4 separate regions of the Homo sapiens genome follow, and all the other regions are linked to region 2. The links are contacts of gene promoters, found by promoter capture Hi-C in blood cells and fetal thymus (Javierre and others, 2016). All regions are on one chromosome and are shown on one strand. Each heading gives the region's core, a stretch centred on a gene start or on the middle of the fragment in contact. The rest is flanking DNA. Distances are from core to core; before and after follow the strand shown.

Region 1 (4,623 bases), core at 491-2,990, 6.2 Mb after region 2:
GCGGCTGGCTCTCACACAGGTTCCTCCAGCGCCCGGCGGCTCCCGCACCGAGCGCTGAGATGCTCAGAGCCAAAAACGTCCCGACACTTTTCCTCCGAGAGGGGCCCCGGGCGGGGAGCTCCACGTCTTCCGTGGCAACACCGTGGCACGGAAGGGACTTCTAGAGCATTCTGTGATGGCGGGTGGCTGTGTCTGCCGGGGTGTGGGGTGGGGTGGGGGAGTGGAACGGAGCGGCCCAGCGAGACGAAGCTCAGCCCTCTGGCGCTGGGAGCTGCCGGGTGGGGATTCCGAGCCACCTGCGCCGGGCTGGGGCTCGGGCAAGGGGCGTCCGAGAGCGAGGCCGGGGAGGCCGCCGGGGCAGCGATCGCACCGCGAGTCCAGGGAGGCTCCGTGCGCCTTACCTGGGCCCTGGGGCCGGCAAACTTGCACGGCTCTACCTCCACCTCCGCGTCCTCGGGGCCCCCGCGGAGCGCGGCGCGGAGCCTCTCCAAGTGTTCCCTCAGGGTGACCCGCTGGTGGAAGGAGAAAGCCGGGTGCAGCGAGGCCATGGTGAAGAGCAGCAGCAGTTCCTCCTGGGCCCTGGAGCCAAGCCCGCCGCCGACCCGGGGCTCCACAATGCCGCCTTCCGGGCCTGAGCCGTCCTTCTCGGCGTCCTGCTCGCCGTCGCCGTCCTCGCCGCGCTCGTCCTCCGCGCCGCCCCGCGAGCCCTCGCCCCGGGCCGCGCGCAGGCTTTTGAGCACCGAGTCCACCTGGGGTAGCAGGCGGTGCAGACGGCCAGCGGCCTCCCGGTTCTCCGAGCCCAGCAGCGCCAGGTAGACGATGAGGCGCGAGCGCACCGCGGGCTCTCGGAAGTCGGCCAGCGGCCCCGGGTCCGAGAGGCCGTTGGCCTTGGCCTCCGAGTCGCGCAGGTAGTGGTAGTCCTTGCGCGCCAGGTCCTCCAGGCACGAGCCAAGGAAGCGCAGCTCCAGCGGGTTGCACAGGTCCAGCAGCCCGCACATGAACTCCAGGCGCTGCGCCGAGCCCAGCACCAGCCCGAACCACTCGTATACCCGCTCCTGCTCGCGCAGCGCCGCCGAGGGCCCCCCGCCGCCGCCCGGCATACCCGCCCCCGCCGCCGCTCCACCAGCAACAGGCGGCCCGAGTCCCCGGGGCGGCGGCGGCGGCGGCAGAGGGCCCCGCGACGGGCCCGCGGGCGGCGGCGGCGGCGGCGGGGGGCGGCAGTCGCGGCGGCGGCGCGAAGGCGCCTTCGCGCCCGGCCGCGCGTCCGCCTCGGGCTCCTCCGCCTCGGGCGGCGGCTCCGCGGGGTGCGTTGGCTTCAGCGGCAGCTTCATCCTCAGCATCCTCGGCTAGGGCGGCGCAGACATGCGAGCGGGGGCGGGCGGGAGGGGCCGCGAGGTGGAGCACGGGCCGAGGCGGCGGCGCGGCCGTCAGGAGCGGGGCCCCTCCATGCCGCCGGGGGAGGGCCGGGGCCGGGGGCGGGTCTCGGCCGGCGAGGGGGGCGGTGGCCGGCCGGCGGGGTCGCTGGCGTCGTCTTCCCGGGCTGGGGGCGGGGCGTGCCCGCGACGGCTCCTCCCCCTGGGCTCCTCGCCGGTTCTGGGAGCCCGGGTGCGGGTGGGAGCAAGCGAGCGAGGGTGTCCTCCTTCCGCCTCCCTCTCTCCGCCGTCCGCGCTGAGCCGGGGCGGCGGTGCCTGAGCTGTTCCCTCGCGAGCCGGTGAGGACGGAGCGGCTGGGTGAGGAGGTGGAGCAGCCGGGCCGGGCGGAGAAGCTTGCGGGCTCCGCGCACCTCACCTCCGCCAATCAGCACCGCGAATCGACGGTGACGTCGCTCTCCCCGCCCCCTGGGGGGCCGCCTTTCTCCAGGAAGCCACGCCCAACTGCTGGCCGGCCGCCTCCCTCTCGGCGGCTTCCGTGCGGTCCTAAAGGCTGGTGCTCGGCAGGAGGAGGACGCGGGCTGGGGCCGTGGGGCGGCGTGAGGGTAGCCCGGGAGCGGTGAGGAGCGTGCGAGGCCCACGTGAGCGGAGGGACGCGGCCGCTCTCACCTTTCCTGAGGGCCCTGGCCCGGCTTTGGACTCCTGATTCTCCTCTGCTTGCCAGCTGCCGCCCCGCCTCCGCCAGTGGTGCCCGGGCTGCCTGCGCGGCCGGAGTGAACGCGTCCCGGGAGCAGGGGTTTCTCCGAAGTGAGTGCGCCAGCCCCGGGACGAGCTCGTTCGAGTCCTCACCGCCCAGTGCACTTCCTGAAAGCCGGCGGTGGGCTGTCTCCCACCTTGTGAAACTTTGCCAGGTGTCGCTCACAGGGGACTGGGTCCGGACGCGGGTGGCGGCGCTGGTTTGCGGCCCCGGTTTGCGGCCCCGGCGCCGCGATCCCGGGCCGCGCCCACGCCCAGGCTGGAGGCACCGTGCGCAGGTGGGGACGCGCGGCCGGGAGGTGCGCAGCGGGACCCGGCCGGCCGAGGGTGAGCGCTGCTGGGGACGCTCCTAGTCTGTAACGCTCTGTGAAAATTATTTCCTGGATAGTTTAGGAAAAGCCTCTCCCTTCCCCGCCCCTAAACCTCTATCTTTTGGGAATCATTGATTTGCTAAATGACATTTCGGTGCCTAACCCATTTTGAATCCTTGTTCTGCTGTGAATTTCATGTGACTGGAGGAATTTAATAAGCTACCAACTTGACAGGCTTTAAACTTAAAAAAAAAAAGTTTTGTTACGTTTTTCAGATTTAGGCTTCCAAGATGTTTACACTCGCACTGTTACTTTTTTTTTTTTTTTTTTTTTTTTTTAGCAACATAGTCCAAATTTTTAAAACTCAGCTGGATCTTTTGAGGGTTAATTAAAAGGTGGGTTAAAAAAAATCTTAAGACTTTAAATTTAGAAGTCCTACTACAGCTATGTAGTAGGAGTATGCAGAAAGATAAGAATCACATTGTAACTCTTTGCGGTGGTGCTGGAACATCTGTTGGGAGAGCATATGCTGAACTCTGTTCACCTCACAAGTTTATGTCCTAAGAGGCTCATTCACAGTTCAGTAAAAGGGTGAACTGAAGCCTGAATCAGTTTCGGGGATGAAAGGGTGAGAGGGAGAACTGTTTTCAGCACATTTGAGGTTGGCAAAATATATAAAAGTCACTCTTTCTTGTAATTTGCTAGTTCTTTACAGTCTTTAGATGTAATTTACAGCCAAGAAAACTTTATTATGAGGACTTATACGTCATTGCCCTTTTTTGCTGTCACCCTCAACTACCCTGGGATCTTCTACTCATATCTCATCTCCTGTTCCCACTTTTCTAAAGCTTAGGGTGAAATACTTAGGCAACTAGTAATAATATTAATCTTGCTAGATATTCACAGGTTCATAGTGAGCCAGCTGTCTAGATCTGGATATCTAGTGAGCAAATAAATTCTTTACCTCCGAGTTGATTTTTGTTTTATTGATCGATTGACACAGTCTTGCTCTGTCACCCAGGCTGGAGCACAGGCTCAAGCAGATCCTCCTGCCTCAGCCTCTCAAGTAGCTGGGACCACAGGCACGTGACACCACACCTGGCTAATTGTTTGTATTTTTTTGTAGAGACAGAGTCTCACCATGTTGCCCAGGCTGGCAAATTGAGTTTTATATGTGACGCAGTCAAAGGGGCATTTTCCTTGGCAATAAGAAGCCATTTGATATGAACTCTCCACAATAGTTGATGCATACATTTTATACCAGAATTCAAATTTGTAATCAATAATGATTACTTGGGTGTTTATAGCTTTGGCCAACATTAAACAATATAGTGATCAAAGCTTATACACATAAGTGACATATACCATGATTTAATGATTTTGGTTATCCATCAGCTGGACAATTTGTTGTTTATCTCCGTCTCTGCATACTGCAGCTCACAAGGAGGCCTCAATGTTTTTTCCATGTTACCATAAGTGAGAGAACACATTCAGTAAGAGTGAAAAAACGCTAGTGCTTTTGAGGGAGGGGCCCCGATGGAAGTCCCACTGTGACATGTGAGTTTTTAAGCTGGGAAAACTACCCTGATGATTCTAGTAAGACTCCCTAGAAAGGGATTCCTCTTAGCCAGCCTACCTGTTGAGAACACCTGCTCTAGATTTTCTGATTTTTTTTTGTATTCCCTGCATAATCAAATCATGTGGGCCAGATAACATTATTGTGATAGTGGTGAGTGTGTGGTTTGTATCCAAATATTTTATAAAGAAATATATCTTGTAACAAAAACCAGGACACAAAGTATTATTGTCTCTTGTCCCCAGATGATATATATATTTTTAACTTCCCATACTACACTGATGTACCTAGATGATGTTTAATGCACATTCAGTATATTGTTTTATTTGCCTTTTTAATAGTGAAAGGTGTCATTATTCATATACCATGCCATACCGTAATATAGCTGGTATTATTGTCCAAGTATTTATATGTAACCAGAAAACTGATTCCAAGTGAAGGTTTGGATGAAGGCACTAGTGACGGAGGAGGCTTTTCAACCCTCCTTTTTGCAGCTGGGTTGCTGCAAGACATTTCACCAAAACCTCAGATAACTGGGTGGTTCAGGGCAGCCTGATACACTAAAATATATCAACTATAAAAAGGATGCCCAGATACGTCCACTTCTACT
Region 2 (4,940 bases), core at 1,910-4,409:
CATTCGAGTTGTTTAGCTTTTCACAATTACAAACTGTCCTGCTATAGACAAGACATTCTTGTATATGACTTTTGGTGAGGACATGTGTCTTAGCCTGTTGGTGCTCTATAACAAAAAAATACAGACTTGGTAATTTATAAATAATAAAAATTTATTTCTTAAAGTTCTGGAGGCTGCACATAAAGGAGTCAGCAGGTGTGGTATCTGATAAGGGTTTGCTCTCTGCTTCCAGGATGGTACCTTCTTGTTGTGTTTTCACATGGCTTAAGGTTGAAGGAGAAAAGGGACTAAGATGATCCCTTCAATCTCTTTTATAAGGTCTCTAATCACATTCATGAGGATTCCACCTCATGACTAAATCATGCCCAAATGGCCCCACCTCTTAATGTTATCATACCGGCAATTAAGTTTCAACATATGAAATTTGGGTTACACATTTAGACTACAGCAATATGTATGCAAAATATACAAGGTATATATATACACAAATGTAGCTTATCTGAAAGTCTTTTAAAAAATGTTGTCAAAATAGTAGAATCTTTTAAATCTCAAAAAAAATTATCACCACTTGAGGTAGATAAGCAGAAAAAAACACTTAAATTTTTCACCACAGAATATGTTCCAGCATATGTAAATTTAGCATGTTCTCTGAACAAAAAAGCCTAAAAAGTTTATTGGTTTATTAAATCATTTTCAGATTAATGCATTATTTTGATCATTTTCTCATTGCCTAGATCAGTGATGTGCAACGGAAATGTAATGCAAACCAAGTATATAATTATAAATTTTCTAGTAGCTACACTGAAAAATAAAAACAGGTGAGATTAATTTTAATAATTTAATTAACTCAATACACCTAAGCTATAATCATCACAACATATTATCAGTAAAAAATATTGAGACATTTTACAGTTTTATACTTTCTCCCCAATCCAGTGATCCAGTGTATATTTTACATTTATAGTACATCTCATTACAACGTCTCTAATTTCATCAGAAATACTTAATTGGTATTTATTTTATAGAGACATGGTCTTGCTCTGTTGCCAGGCTGGAATGCAGTGGCAGGATCACACCTCGCTGCAACCTCAACTTCCCTGGCCCAACTTATCCTCCCACCTCAGCCTCTGGAGTAGCTGGGACCACAGGTGTGTGCCACCACATCTGGCTAATTTTTTTTTTTTTTTTTTGAAACAGAGTCTTGCTCTGTCGCCCAGGCTGGAGTGCAGTGGCGCGATTTCAACTCACTGCAAGCTCGGCCTCTTGGGTTCATGCATTCTCCTGCCTCAGCCTCCCAAGTAGCTGGGACCACAGGTGTCTGCCACCACGCCCAGCTAATTCTCTGTATTCTTAGTAGAGACGGGGTTTCACTGTGTTAGCCAGGATGGTCTCGATCTCTTGACCTCGTGATCCACCTGCCTCGGCCTCCCAAAGTGCTGGGATTACAGGTGTAAGCCACCGCGCCAGGCCACATCTGGCTAATTTTTTAATTTTTTGTACAGATGGGGTCTCACTGTGTTGACCAGGCTGGTCTCAGACGCCTCACCTCAAGCAATCCTCCTGCCTCAGCCTCCCAAAGTGCTGGGATAATAGGCATGAGCCACCCATGCCTGGGACTTGATCAGTATTTAGATTTCATAAAATTTACAGTTGAAAAAGTAGATTCACATACCTCAGTTGTTCCAACCACATTAAAAAAACTTTCCAATAGCTGAATCGAGTGTCAGTTTTTGAGTTTACTGAAATTAAAAAAAATAAATATTCAGTTATTTCATCACACTAGGCACATTTCAAAAGCTCAATAGCCACATGTGGTTAGTGGCTACACTACTGAAAAGCACAGATCTAGGTCAACTGGCTTTTGTTGTTGTCCACATGTGAACTTAAACTGTAACGCAAATATAAGAGGAAATTATTTCACTTTGCATGCTGTGGAAGACAGAAAACTTTGAAATACATGAGAATGAAAAAAAAAAATTGAATATGGGTCATTCAGAGACCTTGCCAAGAAAGTAGAAAAGCTTCTGTATAAGAGTATCGAGGCGATGGTACTATTATAAAGCTGTTCCACCACCACCGGGAGAACATTCCCATCATTTCAACAGTCCCCTTACGTTTTAGTCTACTTTTTTCTTAAAAAAAAAAGAAAAAAAGGAAAAGAGAAAGAAAAAGAAAAATTGAATCTGTAGAGGGCTTGCGCTGGATACCATGCTGCATGCACAAAGGGGGTGACATTTAGGGCTTGCTCTCAATTAGAGTGCAATTTAATCTTCTAGTCACTAGGAATAACGACGTTTTATGACATTTTTGCCTGTTGGAATTTTGAACCTAAGGTGAACCGGCTGACATCATATCCCCCTTCTGTTGTTGTCACAGGTTTTCAAAATTTGGTTTGATCTAAATTCTCTGGTACCTTATGTCCCATAAAAATTTCATCTAGTTCGTAAGTAGTGATTGCTGCAGTAACCGTCTTATAAAAGTATATGGTTTTTACAAATCATTGTCGTATAGAAGAAAAAACAGGTAGCAATATAAATATTTCATACTACTTTATCTAGTTCCAAAATAATCAGAAAAGAGCCATCAAAAAATATCCTACGCTTAACTTCATGTTCTCAAGTTTCAAGAGAAAGTTTTTAAAGAGGCAATCCTTACTTTGGCAAAAATGCATTAAAGCTTGCTGCATTTAAGAGATGTCCCATTATGCAAACAGGTTGAAAGAATATTACAAATACGTTTTGGAAAAATACGGAGTGTCGCGCAGCTCAGCAATCCGCAGTCTTAATGCGCGCCTCTTTCCAGGAATTTGATCCAGCATCAAAACCCACAGGTGCACTCACCACACGGGAGTAACAAGTAAATGATGTGCCAGTATTCAACCTGCAAGTGCGTCGTCAGAGCCTACCTCACCCTCAGCATAACTTTCACCGGTATTCACCTTCCCGGAAACGCGCCCCAGTGAACCAGCACCGTTTTCCCTAGTAAAGCCCTTAAGCAGGGTTCCCACGCTCCTGGGCGTGGAGGGGGGCACCGAGAGCGCAAAGGATTCTTAAGACATGACTGCGCAGGCGCTGTCGCATGCGCCGCACTCCCCTCGCATGCGCCGCACTCCCGCGCATAGCCGGAGACGGAGACTGGCCGGGTAGCCCCGCCCCCGTAGTTAGCGCGGTGCTTCTCTTCCGCTCCGGGTCGGCTCCGTTTCCCTTTCCGGGCGGGCAGGCGGCGGACCCCAGTGTCTTTATCCCTCTTTTGCACAGTCAGCTTCTGCAGCTCTCCCGGGCTAGCATGGCAGCGTGGAAGAGTTGGACGGCCCTGCGGCTCTGCGCCACAGGTAATGGGGGCTCAGCGGTCGGGACGCTGGCGGGCGCGTGGGACCTGGCCCCGCCGTGGGGCCGGGATTGGACCCGGGTCTGGGGCGAGGCCTGCGGGGTTCGTGGAGATGCCCACCCATTCCCGGCAGCGTCCTGCCGCCCCCGCCGCGCCACCCTGCCTGGCCCTGACGGAGCGGACACCTTGGGGTCCTTCCGCCGCCGCTGTGCCGGACCAATGCTGGACGTGGGAAGGGCGCGCTGCCTTGTGTTTGTGTTTTTCTCATTGTGGCAGAAGTTTCAATAAAGCTTACTCCTTTGATGGGCAAGAAGGATGCCGCCGTCCCAGCTTAACGACCAAATCTTGCCTTGGCTTTAGGTTCCGAGTCTTGTCACGTTTAAGGATTTTTACCACCAGTACTCAAGAGAGGGTGGTCGAGGACAGATCAGGGTCAGGCCGCCGGGATTGTGCGGTGTGAAAAGGACCTGAGTGTGTGTCAGCGGTTCTCAGCTGCCTCCCGTCAGCATGGAGTGCCCTCATTCTCACTGGGGTCCGCTCACTTAACAACCTTTTAGAGCCCACTCTGTGTCAGGCACTGCCGTGTAATAAGTATTAGAGTTGCAGCTCGACTTTCTTCCTACGTATCTATTTGAGGGGAAATATTTTGAATGGCATTTGGAGTTTTTACGGAAGAGGTAATTGCTACTAAAGCAAAAGAAATAAAGAAGAATGCTGTCTATTTGTATTCCAAAAAGATAGGATGGTTAAAAAGAGACGTAAGATGAGAGTGAAAATATGGAGGAAAAAGGAACTGTGTGTATTAGATTTATTGGCTTACCTAGAACTTGGCCGGTCACGATATGGTTGCATACAGACTAAATATTTATTAAATGGATGAACTACCTTTGCTTTTGCATCATTTGCACCCTGGGATGCATCAGTGATGAATTTTTTGGTAGGTTGTGAAAGGTCAAAAACACTTCAGAGATGACTAAGCTTATACGGTATGAGCCAAATAATCAGCATTTATTGTGTACATTTTGTCTTTTTTTTTCAGTTGTTGTACTTGATATGGTCGTCTGTAAAGGATTTGTAGAAGATTTAGATGAATCGTGAGTATACATATATATATTTAAAATATTATTTTAACTGTCCAACTCAGATATCTGAATATTTGCATGTGATTCTAATATTTTAGATTGGAACCAATTTTTATATATCACTCATTTTTTTCACTTGTTGTAAGTGAAGGTGAGGGTGTGCCCAGAAGAGTTTTATTAATAGTTATGAGATCAAAAAACTGTGGCAAACTTTTACATATTCTTTTTTTCCTCATTATCTTACCTTGTATTTATGTCTTTTTCCTTTAATTATATTGAATGGGTGTTAGAATTTGGTAACTGTACTGTATTTATCTTCATAGTATGACAGCATTAATCAGCCTTGCTTATAGTAAGTGAGGAGGTTCACTTCAGACCCAAATTCCTGTGTGTGATCTTTCAGGCTTGACCATAGACAATTGCAAGGCTTTTTCTGGCATAGGGGAAGGTGCCCTCCCTACACCAAACTTGGTGTATAACCGGTGCATTACAGTCCCTGGAGGGAGTGGTAGTCAAGGATTCGGCCTCCCA
Region 3 (4,913 bases), core at 354-2,853, 6.5 Mb after region 2:
CTGTCTGCCTTGCTCCTTGGATTTCCTGTAATTTTGGACATTACTTAAATTAAGGCATTGAAACTGAATTACATCAACTTTATCTCAACAGAACAAATTTTGTGCAGCAGAAAACCCAATTTTGGCGGTGAAAAAGTCGTCCCAAAGACAAAGGGTCTTAAGTACATCTGACTTTTCGGAGACAGCAGCAGTGTGTCCTATTCTTTCTCTCCTGGCTCAGACTCAAAGAACTACTGCAGGCAATTCAGGTAACACTATTTCCTGGTAGTGTGATTCAGGTAACTGGAGAAAAAGGAAAATGCTTAAAGCAATAAACTAGTATAAAAGGGAACCTTCTGGAGTCCCGTAATAGCCAGTGAACTAGAAACTCTTGATATTTTATAGATACTGACACCAGTAGGGGAGCCAGGAGCCAAGTGCAACACCAGCCAAGGGTTGGAAGCAGGCAGAGAGAACAGTCATTGCCTGATCCTCTTGCTTCCACCGCAAAAGAGCGCCCCCACCCCAATACTCTCGTTCCTTAAAATGTCCCTATCGGGACCCACGCAGAAATACCCCCTCTCCCCTACAGTAACTCCGTACAATCCCAAATACCCTGCCGGAGTGTGACAGGCTGCGTCCACTTACTGAGCTGTCCCCCGCCCGACGCTGTACTCGGTTCCCGACCTCCAGCGCCCCCAACGCCGGCTGCTCCAGGGACCCCTGGCGCCCCCATCCCCGGCGGGGTTCCACTTTGCCTCTCGAAGTTGCCTGGATTGGAGAAGTAGTCGCGCAGCCGAGGCAGCTCCCGGCCACTCTCTAACAGCTCGGTATGCAGCTCCAGGGCGGTCAGCAAGTATTGATCGCGCAACAGCTGAGCAGCGATCGCATCAATTGATAATCGGGCCGGGGTCTCCCCGGTGCCCCCCAGGGCCACTGCAGCCGCCGACGCCTCCCCAGGGAGCCCTGGCCGCGCACTGCTTCCTAAGGCCACGGGATCCTGTGGCGACAGCGAGCCCGCAGAGCCAGGATCTAGGCCACTTCCGGCGCCCAGCCGAAGTACTGCCCGCCGTTCCTCTGTTGCAGCTACCTCGTCATCGTCCTCATCCGAATCACTGAGAAATGGATTCACGCCGCCACCACTGCCACTACCTCCAGGCGCCATCGCCGCCATCTTATCCTGTCAGGAGTGTGGGCGCCTCCCTGACTGGTTCCGACGGGCCGCAGCCCGAATCCTCTAGGCCTCAGGGGACACAGCGCACCTCCACAGCCCCGGCCTGACCACGTCCTGCCTCCCGACTTAGAGACAAGGAGTACGCTCCAAGGCAGGAGATCCGGATGCAGCTGCACCTGATGCCTCAGCCTCTGCTGCACCAGCAGCCCGGCTCTGCAGGCGTCTTCCTGGTCTCCAGTCTCGCGAGAACTGGAGCGTGCCCCTGCCCCTCTCCCCGATCTAGCCCCGCCCCAGCCCCGCCCCAGCCCACTTCAGCTCCGCCCATTCCCAGCGCCAGATAGCAAAGATTGAAGGCCCCGCTCTCCGCTCAAAAGCAAAACTCCACCCACGACTCCTCCATGATTGGTCAGAGAAGGAAGGCGTGGAGCGGACTGACGGGAGACTGGCCCGAGAATTATCGCGATAGCAGCAGCGGCCGGGCAGGTATTGGGGGCGTTCCGGAATTGAGGGGTGGTTGTAGTGGTGGCTTAGGAATACCCTCCCGGCTATCGCTTCAGTGGGTAGAGGGGACCACTGCCCGAGAGCTTTAATGGAGCTGGGTCCTGCCTTCGCGCTGAGGAGCCCTCGTTTTCGAGATCAGGCCTGACCGGGATAAGCTCCAGGTAAAGTTCAGGGACCAGTGCGCGGAGGGTGTCGGCGCCCAAACTGTGGTGTCGCGCCCGCGGACGCGCTGTTTCCCTACTGCGCTGCACTTTTTCTCGCTATTTGCTGCCAGTGGTGACATTTTGTCCCCATGGATAGCAAGTGCCCAGGCCTGTAGTCGGAATGTGACTTCCTTTCTTTTCCCTTCTCTGCCACATGCTTGCACACTCGGGAGGCCTAGCGACAGCACGACTTCTCAGCCCCGGAGGTGGTCCTGCCTGTGGGTGGGGACGGGGGCTGGAGAGACTAAACGGAAAAGGGAACGCTGAGGTTGGCATTTGCCTGGATCTGGGAACATCGTCGAGTTGGAAAACAAATTGTTAGGTACTCAATAAACGCTTAGGATTTAATACACGATTTACACAACAGGGACCCTTCAGAATATCTAATGCTGTCTCACCAGTAGACAGATAAGTAAACTTAAGCCAAGAGTGGTTGTTATAAAATCAGCTCCACGCCGGGCGCGGTGGCTCACGCCTGTAATCCCAGCACTTTGGGAGGCCGAGCCGGGCGGATCACGAGGTCGGGAGTTCGAGACCAGCCTGACCAACATGGTGAAACCCCTTCTCTACTAAAAACACAAAAATTAGTTGGGCGTGGTGGCGCAAGCCTGCAATCCCAGCTACTCAGGAGGCTGAGGCAGGAGAATCGCTTGAACCCCGGAGGCGAAGATTGCAGTGAGCCGAGGTCGCGCCACTGCACTCCAGCCTGGGCGACAGAACGAGACTCCGTCTCAAAAAAAAAAAAAAAAAAAAAAAAAAATCAATTCCGCTAATAAGGAGTCAAAGGAATTAACATCATTTCTCTTATGTCCCAAACGATTCTTTATCCACTGTCTCCTGCAACATTTCTGACTCGTTCATGCAGGCTAGAATCAAGGTTTTGGAACTTAGAACTATTTTAAAAGTTGAATGCTTCAGAGAGTTTTGATTTTTTTGATGAAATGTTAGCATATAAAGTACATATCCTAAGTTTAGAAGATCAACGTTTATCTTTTATGTCATTCCTTGATTATGATCTGAAAAGGTAAAGGAATTTCCAGTCAATACAATTAGACTGCTATTTCTTATGGCTCCTATTTTTTTCACACACAAATGACCACTTTTCCAGGCTTTAGATTTCCTTTCTTAGTGTACAGGTAAGTGACATATTACATTCAGTGTGTAGTAAACATTCCACAGTAAAGTATCTCCCGTTAGCTCCATGGAAAAATTAAAATAGACGATTCTTACATAACCTTAGGTCAGGTTATTGGTTTACATGTAAAAGTATGCCAACAGTTAAGAGTAGGCTTTAATTTCAATATACCCAGGCTCAATAAACTAAAATTTTCATTTGAATGGGGATTTGGGTTTTTAAAATTTTATTTTTGCTAGAAGTTTAAAAAAAAAGTACCAAGAATTTAAACTATTTTTTTATAGGACATTAGTTCCCAATGTTTTAATGATAAATAGTTTTCTGTGCCATATATTAAAAGTAAAACATGGGGAAAAAAATCCCCCCAAATAGAATTGAAATGGCAAATACTGTATCCTGTTAGAGATTTCTTAGCAAAAGGGATTGCTGATCCGTATTTTAGTTGGATTTTCCAGAGAGATTAAAATGGAACCAATTTCTGGAATCCAGGAATGGAGGATTAGTGAATGGCATGGGAAGGGCATGATTAGAAATGGATTGTTTATATACAATATTTCCATCTCCATGATTGGGAAATTGAGAAATCTCCTGCATTTAGGATTCCTGAAGAGGATTATGCTTATAAGATAGAAAAGCTTAAGTTCAGATCCCAATTCTACTCATTATTTATTGTGAGACCTTGAAAAAGTTACCTAACTTCTCAGCCTCACTTGCATTCGTCTATCAAAGGGGATAAGGAAAGTACACAGAATTGAGAATGTTCTTGTCCCAGTGCCTGGTACCTGCTACACAATAACTATTACTGTGGTCACTTATTAATTATTGAAATATTAGTATGTGTTGAGAACATTTGACAAGTGTTTAAAAATAAAACTAATATCAATCGTTTTGGCAGTGCAAGCCTGAAAAAGCAATTAAGTCAGTAGGGCTGAAGGGAGTATCTTTAATTTGGGGTCTCAGTTCTAAAACACAAGTTGAAAATAGATTTAAAATGTTTCCTCAGAGTTGTAAGAACTTGCATGTAGAGGAATTCTTCCCATACAAATCTGTGGTTTTCTGCTTCTATTTCTGCCTCCTATCCTATAACCATGAACTTGTGTGTTTGATCTTGTAAGCCCATTAGAAATCAACTGCCCAGTCTTCCCAGTATGTACTTTTCTTTTCCACAATACACAGAGGTTTGGTTATTCGTGAATAATGTATAAGTAACACACACTGGAATATTAAAAATTACCGATCACTACTTATAATAATGTATTATTAATAGTGTTGGGAAATTTCCTTTCTACTTAGTAAGATTTTCATTAATCTAGGCCCTTACAACTAATGTTTCATCTGACTAATGATAGTTATTAAAGCTTGTGCCTTAGCAATGAAGATGTAAAAGATGCCTTTTTTCAAAGCACGTCAATCATTTTAGTATTTAAAAAATTATTTTAGGTTTTAATAGTCTTAAAAGAACCACAAGTAATATTCTGAATGCAAGTTTTGGTTGACTTGAGGTTTTAGTAATACCTCATGTTTTATTGTTTTTCAGTGTGTGGTAAACATCCACAGATAAACTAGATAACTTGTATTGGTACATGCATATATCTTTTTAAAATTTTAATAGTTATGTGTTTGTTTTGGAGGTATTTCTTTTTCAATAAATCTGAATAAATTGTGATTTTCTTTAAAGAGAAGTATTAAGTAATATTTAGTATTAAGCAATTAAACTAATTAAAATAAGTAGTTAGTGAATGCTGATATTTTGTAATAACTGCAATTTTATTTACATTAATAGTAAATTACTTTATCATAAAAGGTTTAGTTTTTTTTTTTTTAAAGTATTTTCAGTCTTCACATCTTGTTCTGGAGGAACAAAAACAGAAGCAGGGCATCCTCTAGTGGCTGTAGTGCATATTGCATTTACCCTTGAAAT
Region 4 (5,017 bases), core at 1,586-4,085, 5.4 Mb before region 2:
AGCGTATCAGGTGAGTCTTTCTATTTTTTCACTTACCAACAGCTACTGTATATCTACCATGTGTATCTTCATATATATGCAAAGAGCTATAACATTACAGTTACACTACCTTAACATTACAATTACGACTATGCTTTTCACTGATGCTGAGAAAGTGAGTCACCTCCTGGCATTATGTTTATAGACTAATTTATTCACCACATTAGCCATTCAGACTTCTGAAATATAAATCTTTAAAAAATTTTTAAGAAAAAAACTTTTGGAAGAAAATTTTAATAGATGTTGCTGTTATTTTCTCTTCTGTATAAAAAGCTTCTATTATGTTTATAAACAACATTGTTTAAAAGAAGTATTTAGCTAATACAACGCTTGTTTAAAAGTAGTCTTTAGCGTATCACAATCCTTCAAGTTTTCAGCAAGGTTCCCAACTTAGAAGACATTATTCAAATAATAAAAAGACCTCATCTGCCAAAATCTGTGTAATTCATGGGACTGACTCAAACAATTGTCACAAATCCAATTTCCCTTCCAAGGTTCAGGAGTTGGGGCCTACAATGACGACATCTCATTCCACTCTCAGTGTCACAAAATACATTTCAATAAATATTACCTGCCAGTTATGTATCAACTCCCAGGTTGAGAATACAATAACAACTAACTAGTTCTAGTAAGTATCCTTATTTGTCCTTGTTACCCAAACCGGGTCATTGGCCCCAACACCCTGGACTTCTGACTGTCCCTTCCAACAATTCATTCCTACCTTGCTTAGGGTATCTGACAGGTCTTTTCCATTTATTTGATAAACAACAGCTCCTGTATATCTGTTATATATAAAGCCCTGTGCTAAATATTCTCCATATTCTACACACTTGAAAAATTTCTGTTTGTTACTTTATAGCTGTCTCCAATGGAAGCTGCTCACTGTCTAACTTTCTGAACCCTATCAGACCTAATACTTGTATGCAAAAAACCCTCATGCCATTTATTTGCTTCCACAATTCTCTACCCCTCCTATAGTGGGTGCTGTGGTATGGGGCTCCCAGCTGCAGGGAGCACTGGTAGCGGACAGTTGTCAGCTGAGCTCCTCTCTGGGCATTCCATCATAAGAGAGCTTCCTCACTTAGGTCACGGCACTTCCCTGGACCAGCCCATATTCAATGCCTGGTTGATGCAGAAGCATAAGACTCAGCCCCCATATTAGGTAGGACAGTGACTGGCCAGCTCAGCTCCAGAAGTCCCCAGAGCAGCAGCTGAGGCCCCAACTGCAAATGCACTTCGGCCTCTCCCTCTGCCCAGTCCTGCTTCCCTCATCCCTCAAGACGTATTCTGAGAGCACTCCCTGATAAACCTTACGCAAATCCCACTTCCCTGGGAAGCCAACCTACAACGGGTGCTACCAGGAGTGGTAAGCAGCTCTCAATTTGGATTTTGGAGCTGGCTTGCCGGCCACTGGCTGGCAATGAGGACCCTGTCCCTGGTGGTAGGGGGGTACTGACAGCACCTGTCATAGAGCTGTAGTGCAGCTGATGCAGCTCTCACCAATGGGGACCTGGGATGGAATGCTGGCGGAAGGGAATGTACTGGCTGATGTGTTATTCTGGGAGTTTAGGAGGAATCAGCAATTTTAAGGACTTATATCAGACGGCTGTGGCTGGGGCCATGGAGAGGGATGGTGAGATGAAGTGTGTAACTAATCACCAGTGAAGGTGAGTGCCAAGGGCAGGAGCCTCCTCCCCGGCAGAACAAGACTCAAATTGCACCCAGAGGATAGAAAATGCGTGGGTGAGGTCTGGGGCGGAAGGGATTCAGGGAGTTTGGCATTTCAAGCCCATGAGACCTCCCACACCAAGGTCAGGGTCCTGATTTGGGAGGAAAGGCAACCTAAAGCTGGGTAGGGGGCCCTTGAGGTCAATGTTGTAAAAAATCTTGAATCCCAATTCTCCTGACCCCTCTAGCCCTGAAGCAGCAGCTCAGTGTCTGGTAAAGGTTGGCACTTCCTCCACCTTGGAAACTGGGCGAGGGGTGGGTGGGGGTTTCTGCCTAGCAAGATACGTGCTGCTCTCAGGAGGGCTCTCCACCTCCCCTCCTGGCCAAGTTACAACACGACTGGGCATGAGAAGGGTGAGAAGAACAATACTCGGAAGGAGCTGGAGGTCCCCCCGGGGGGGGGGGGAACATAGACACCACTGCTTCTTAAGGGTGGTGTGTCAAGGGCACAGAACACAAAACCAGCTGAGAGTTGATCAGCATGGGGCACGCTCCTGTGATGAATTTAGCAACCAGGCAAGCACCCTGGGAACTGATATGCAGCTGGCTAGGTCTGCTCCTGGAAACTTCGAGACAGTGATGGTCCACATTAAGTAAAAGTGACAGAACAGCCATGGCAAACTGGACGAAAGGCTCAACAGCCTCCAAGAATGGGGATGCTACCATAGATATAAGATATAAAGCCCGAAAACCCACCAGCTGACTATGTTCTTAGGAGGGACAGGAGGACACTGTGTACCAAAGCCACAAGGAAGCCACAGTTACATCTTTATAGAGCAGGATGCCCTGACAGAAATGGAGATGAAAGAATTATGAAGCAGAGACCAGGCTGGGGTGTTAAACAGAAGCCAAGGTGGGTGCAACCATCATAACTAATGGCAAGGCTGGAGTGGCAGTCGGGAGTGTCTGACCTACAGAAAGCAACAGAGTTGATGACTAGAACACAGTGTTTCCAAAGGGAAGACACAAGGGCAGCGGACAAGGCTACTTCTGAATTACACAGTCATGAGAAATTAACTACAGATGATTCCTGAGGCTGAAGGCAGCTGCTCTAATGCAAAGTCCTGAACATTGCCCCAGTTTCTGGACCTGAACCAGTTTTCAGACCTGGAACGCATTTACTGAAGGAAAGCGTATGTAACTGACTCCCCCCGTCCTTCACCAAAAGGACCTACAGTTATCAACTTGGACATAGTCTGTGCTGACAGTGATACCCAAGGACCCAAAGAGTCATGATGACCCCCTGACCGCCCTCCATCACCGGATGTAAGAAGCTCACAGGTGGGTCCAGGGACTTACCTGGCAATAATTTCTGTGATTTCCAAATGTATAAATCAAGGGGATGTACTGAGTAACTGGCAACAATAACTCCCACTTTAGTTCCTTTGGAAGTGGGTTAAGAGCCATCGCAGTGGGAAAAGTCAAATGGAAGCCCCTGAAGCTGCCCTTTCGGTGACCAAGATAGGAAATTAAAAATGATATCACATCTATGGGGAATGGCAGAGTATTCTTAGAGACCTTAGATACAGGCATGGCGATCCCCATCACGGTCCCTTGTAATTTACCAGTCTTCCTTTACAAAACACAAATAGGTGCTGGAGAATGACAGTGGTTAACTGCAAACTCAACCAAGTGGCAGCCGGGGTACACATGTAATACCACAAATGGTAACTTTACAGGGGAATGCATTAACACAATCTCATGGTATTGGCCATTGCTTTGAAGAACGCCTTCTATTCAGAAGCAGCAGCAGTAGTCTGTAGTAACATGAAACAGATAATAACAGTGTATGTTTATGATCCTGCCCAGGATTTGCTAATTCTCTCACCCTCTATCATAACAGTCTTAAGGGACTGAAACCTTCTGGACCTGGGCTGTCTAATACAGTAGCCACTTGCCACTCATGGCTATTTCAGTTCAATTTTAAATTAATTAAAATTAAATCAATTCAGTTCTTCAGTCACAAGTTTTAGCAACATTTCAAGTGCTCAAAATAGCTACAAGTGGCCAGGAACTACCCAAATGGACAGCACAGATATAGGACATTTCTATGCAGAAAGTTTTATTTGAATAATGCTGTTCTGGACATTCAGGAGAATATCACATTTGTCTACTATATTTATGCCATCATGTTAGAGCCCATAAGTAACAAGTGGCAAGTGTGTTAGAAGGCTTGGTCAGAGAAGCTGCAAGTGTGAGAGGTGGGTCCAACAAAGATGCAGAGGCTCATCAACACATGAGCCGACCTCGTGGGGCTACACTGGGGCGTGCCAAGACATGCCCTCCCAAGTAAAAGACAATTGTACCCTATACCTCCTACCACAATGCTTCATAGGCCTGTTTGAATTCTGGACGCAGCATATTCCATATTTGGGAATGTTGCTCCCATCAATTCACTCAGCCACAAGGACTGTCACGTCTGAATGGGGTGCAGATGAGGGAAGGGGTCCCTAAGCAGGCCTGGTGTGCAGTGCAAGCATGAGCACTGTTGCCTGAGCCAGATGACCTGATGCACATGCTGTTTGCCACTTCTATGCCTTTCACCTCTGCATACAGGTTGTTCCTTCGTGCTGAACTAGTATGAATGAAAAGCTAGGTTTTTGGCATAGTCAGCAGACTCTAAAACAATTGGTATGATCCAATTTTTTGGGTTAAAAATTATTAAAAGGTATGTGTATGAAAGTGCAAAATGTTAAAAATAGTCATCTTCGTGTGGTATAATCATGGCGGTCTAAATTGCTTTGTCTTTTTTTTTCCTACAAATCACATGCGAAATGAAGACATTAAAAAAAAATCTTAAAATATCTGTGAATACATCTCTGACTTTCCCTGACAACTTACATTCCATCCTCCCTATTTTATGTTTTTCTATTACTGCAGGTAACATGTGAAAGTTTTCCCTACCAGTTATGAGTCAATAATCTCTCTCTCTCTCTTTTTATCCTATCCAATTACTCTTTATTATATGTAACAGAGCCAATATAACTTGAGAAAAATTTCCCAAACATAATGAAAAAAAGTTATATCAAATTCAAGATCAACTTTCACATCTGAGTTCCAATCTGTGAAGAAAACTGTAGATCTATATGTTCTAGTTCTAAATTATGTTTAAACGGTTTTTAAAAATTCATGTGAATTGCTTTTTCACCTTTAGCAGTGAACTTGGTATAAAAGGGCATTGGCAGCTCTTGTCATGTCTGTTGAAAGCCCAATCATTAAAGTACTCCTTTTTACCTTTTTGTGATGTTGG

Evidence for each region. Contacts are between HindIII fragments. The CHiCAGO score rates a contact against its expected background, and 5 or more counts as called.
Region 1: a contact is called between the fragment with the promoter of ZCCHC2 here and the fragment with the promoter of TMX3 in region 2, in 1 of 17 cell types (total B cells). The highest score is 7.3, in total B cells.
Region 3: the fragment with the promoter of PIGN here is called in contact with the fragment with the promoter of TMX3 in region 2 in 3 of 17 cell types (total B cells, activated CD4 T cells and non-activated CD4 T cells); the score reaches 7.6 in total B cells.
Region 4: a contact is called between a fragment that was not itself captured here and the fragment with the promoter of TMX3 in region 2, in 1 of 17 cell types (non-activated CD4 T cells). The highest score is 6.6, in non-activated CD4 T cells.

What each region holds. Positions count from the first base shown.
Region 1 is chr18:62,520,142-62,524,764 of GRCh38, reverse strand. It overlaps ZCCHC2 (zinc finger CCHC-type containing 2), which reads right to left and starts at 1,740. Exons shown (of 14, transcript NM_017742.6): 1 at 402-1,740. The coding sequence starts at 1,340. RefSeq lists silencers at 217-456, 1,347-1,846, 1,877-2,146, 2,377-2,486 and an enhancer at 458-1,031. The HindIII fragment of the contact is 5,111 bases long and covers 1-1,767 here.
Region 2 is chr18:68,713,327-68,718,266 of GRCh38, reverse strand. It overlaps TMX3 (thioredoxin related transmembrane protein 3), which reads left to right and starts at 3,159. Exons shown (of 16, transcript NM_019022.5): 1 at 3,159-3,331; 2 at 4,367-4,421. The coding sequence starts at 3,286. It also overlaps a transcript of CCDC102B not described here. RefSeq lists an enhancer at 2,832-2,901 and silencers at 3,102-3,231, 3,412-3,511. The HindIII fragment of the contact is 941 bases long and covers 2,679-3,619 here.
Region 3 is chr18:62,183,746-62,188,658 of GRCh38, reverse strand. It overlaps PIGN (phosphatidylinositol glycan anchor biosynthesis class N), which reads left to right and starts at 1,603. Exons shown (of 31, transcript NM_176787.5): 1 at 1,603-1,815. RELCH (RAB11 binding and LisH domain, coiled-coil and HEAT repeat containing) reads right to left here and starts at 1,404. Exons shown (of 29, transcript NM_001346231.2): 1 at 628-1,404. The coding sequence starts at 1,153. RefSeq lists silencers at 719-938, 1,889-2,101 and an enhancer at 1,089-1,298. The HindIII fragment of the contact is 4,021 bases long and covers 1-3,629 here.
Region 4 is chr18:74,149,094-74,154,110 of GRCh38, reverse strand. It overlaps TIMM21 (translocase of inner mitochondrial membrane 21), which reads right to left. Exons shown (of 6, transcript NM_014177.3): 1 at 5,002-5,017. Among named protein-coding and RNA genes, the nearest start is that of TIMM21, 3.1 kb to the right of the region's middle. RefSeq lists an enhancer at 2,395-3,594. The HindIII fragment of the contact is 5,042 bases long and covers 315-5,017 here.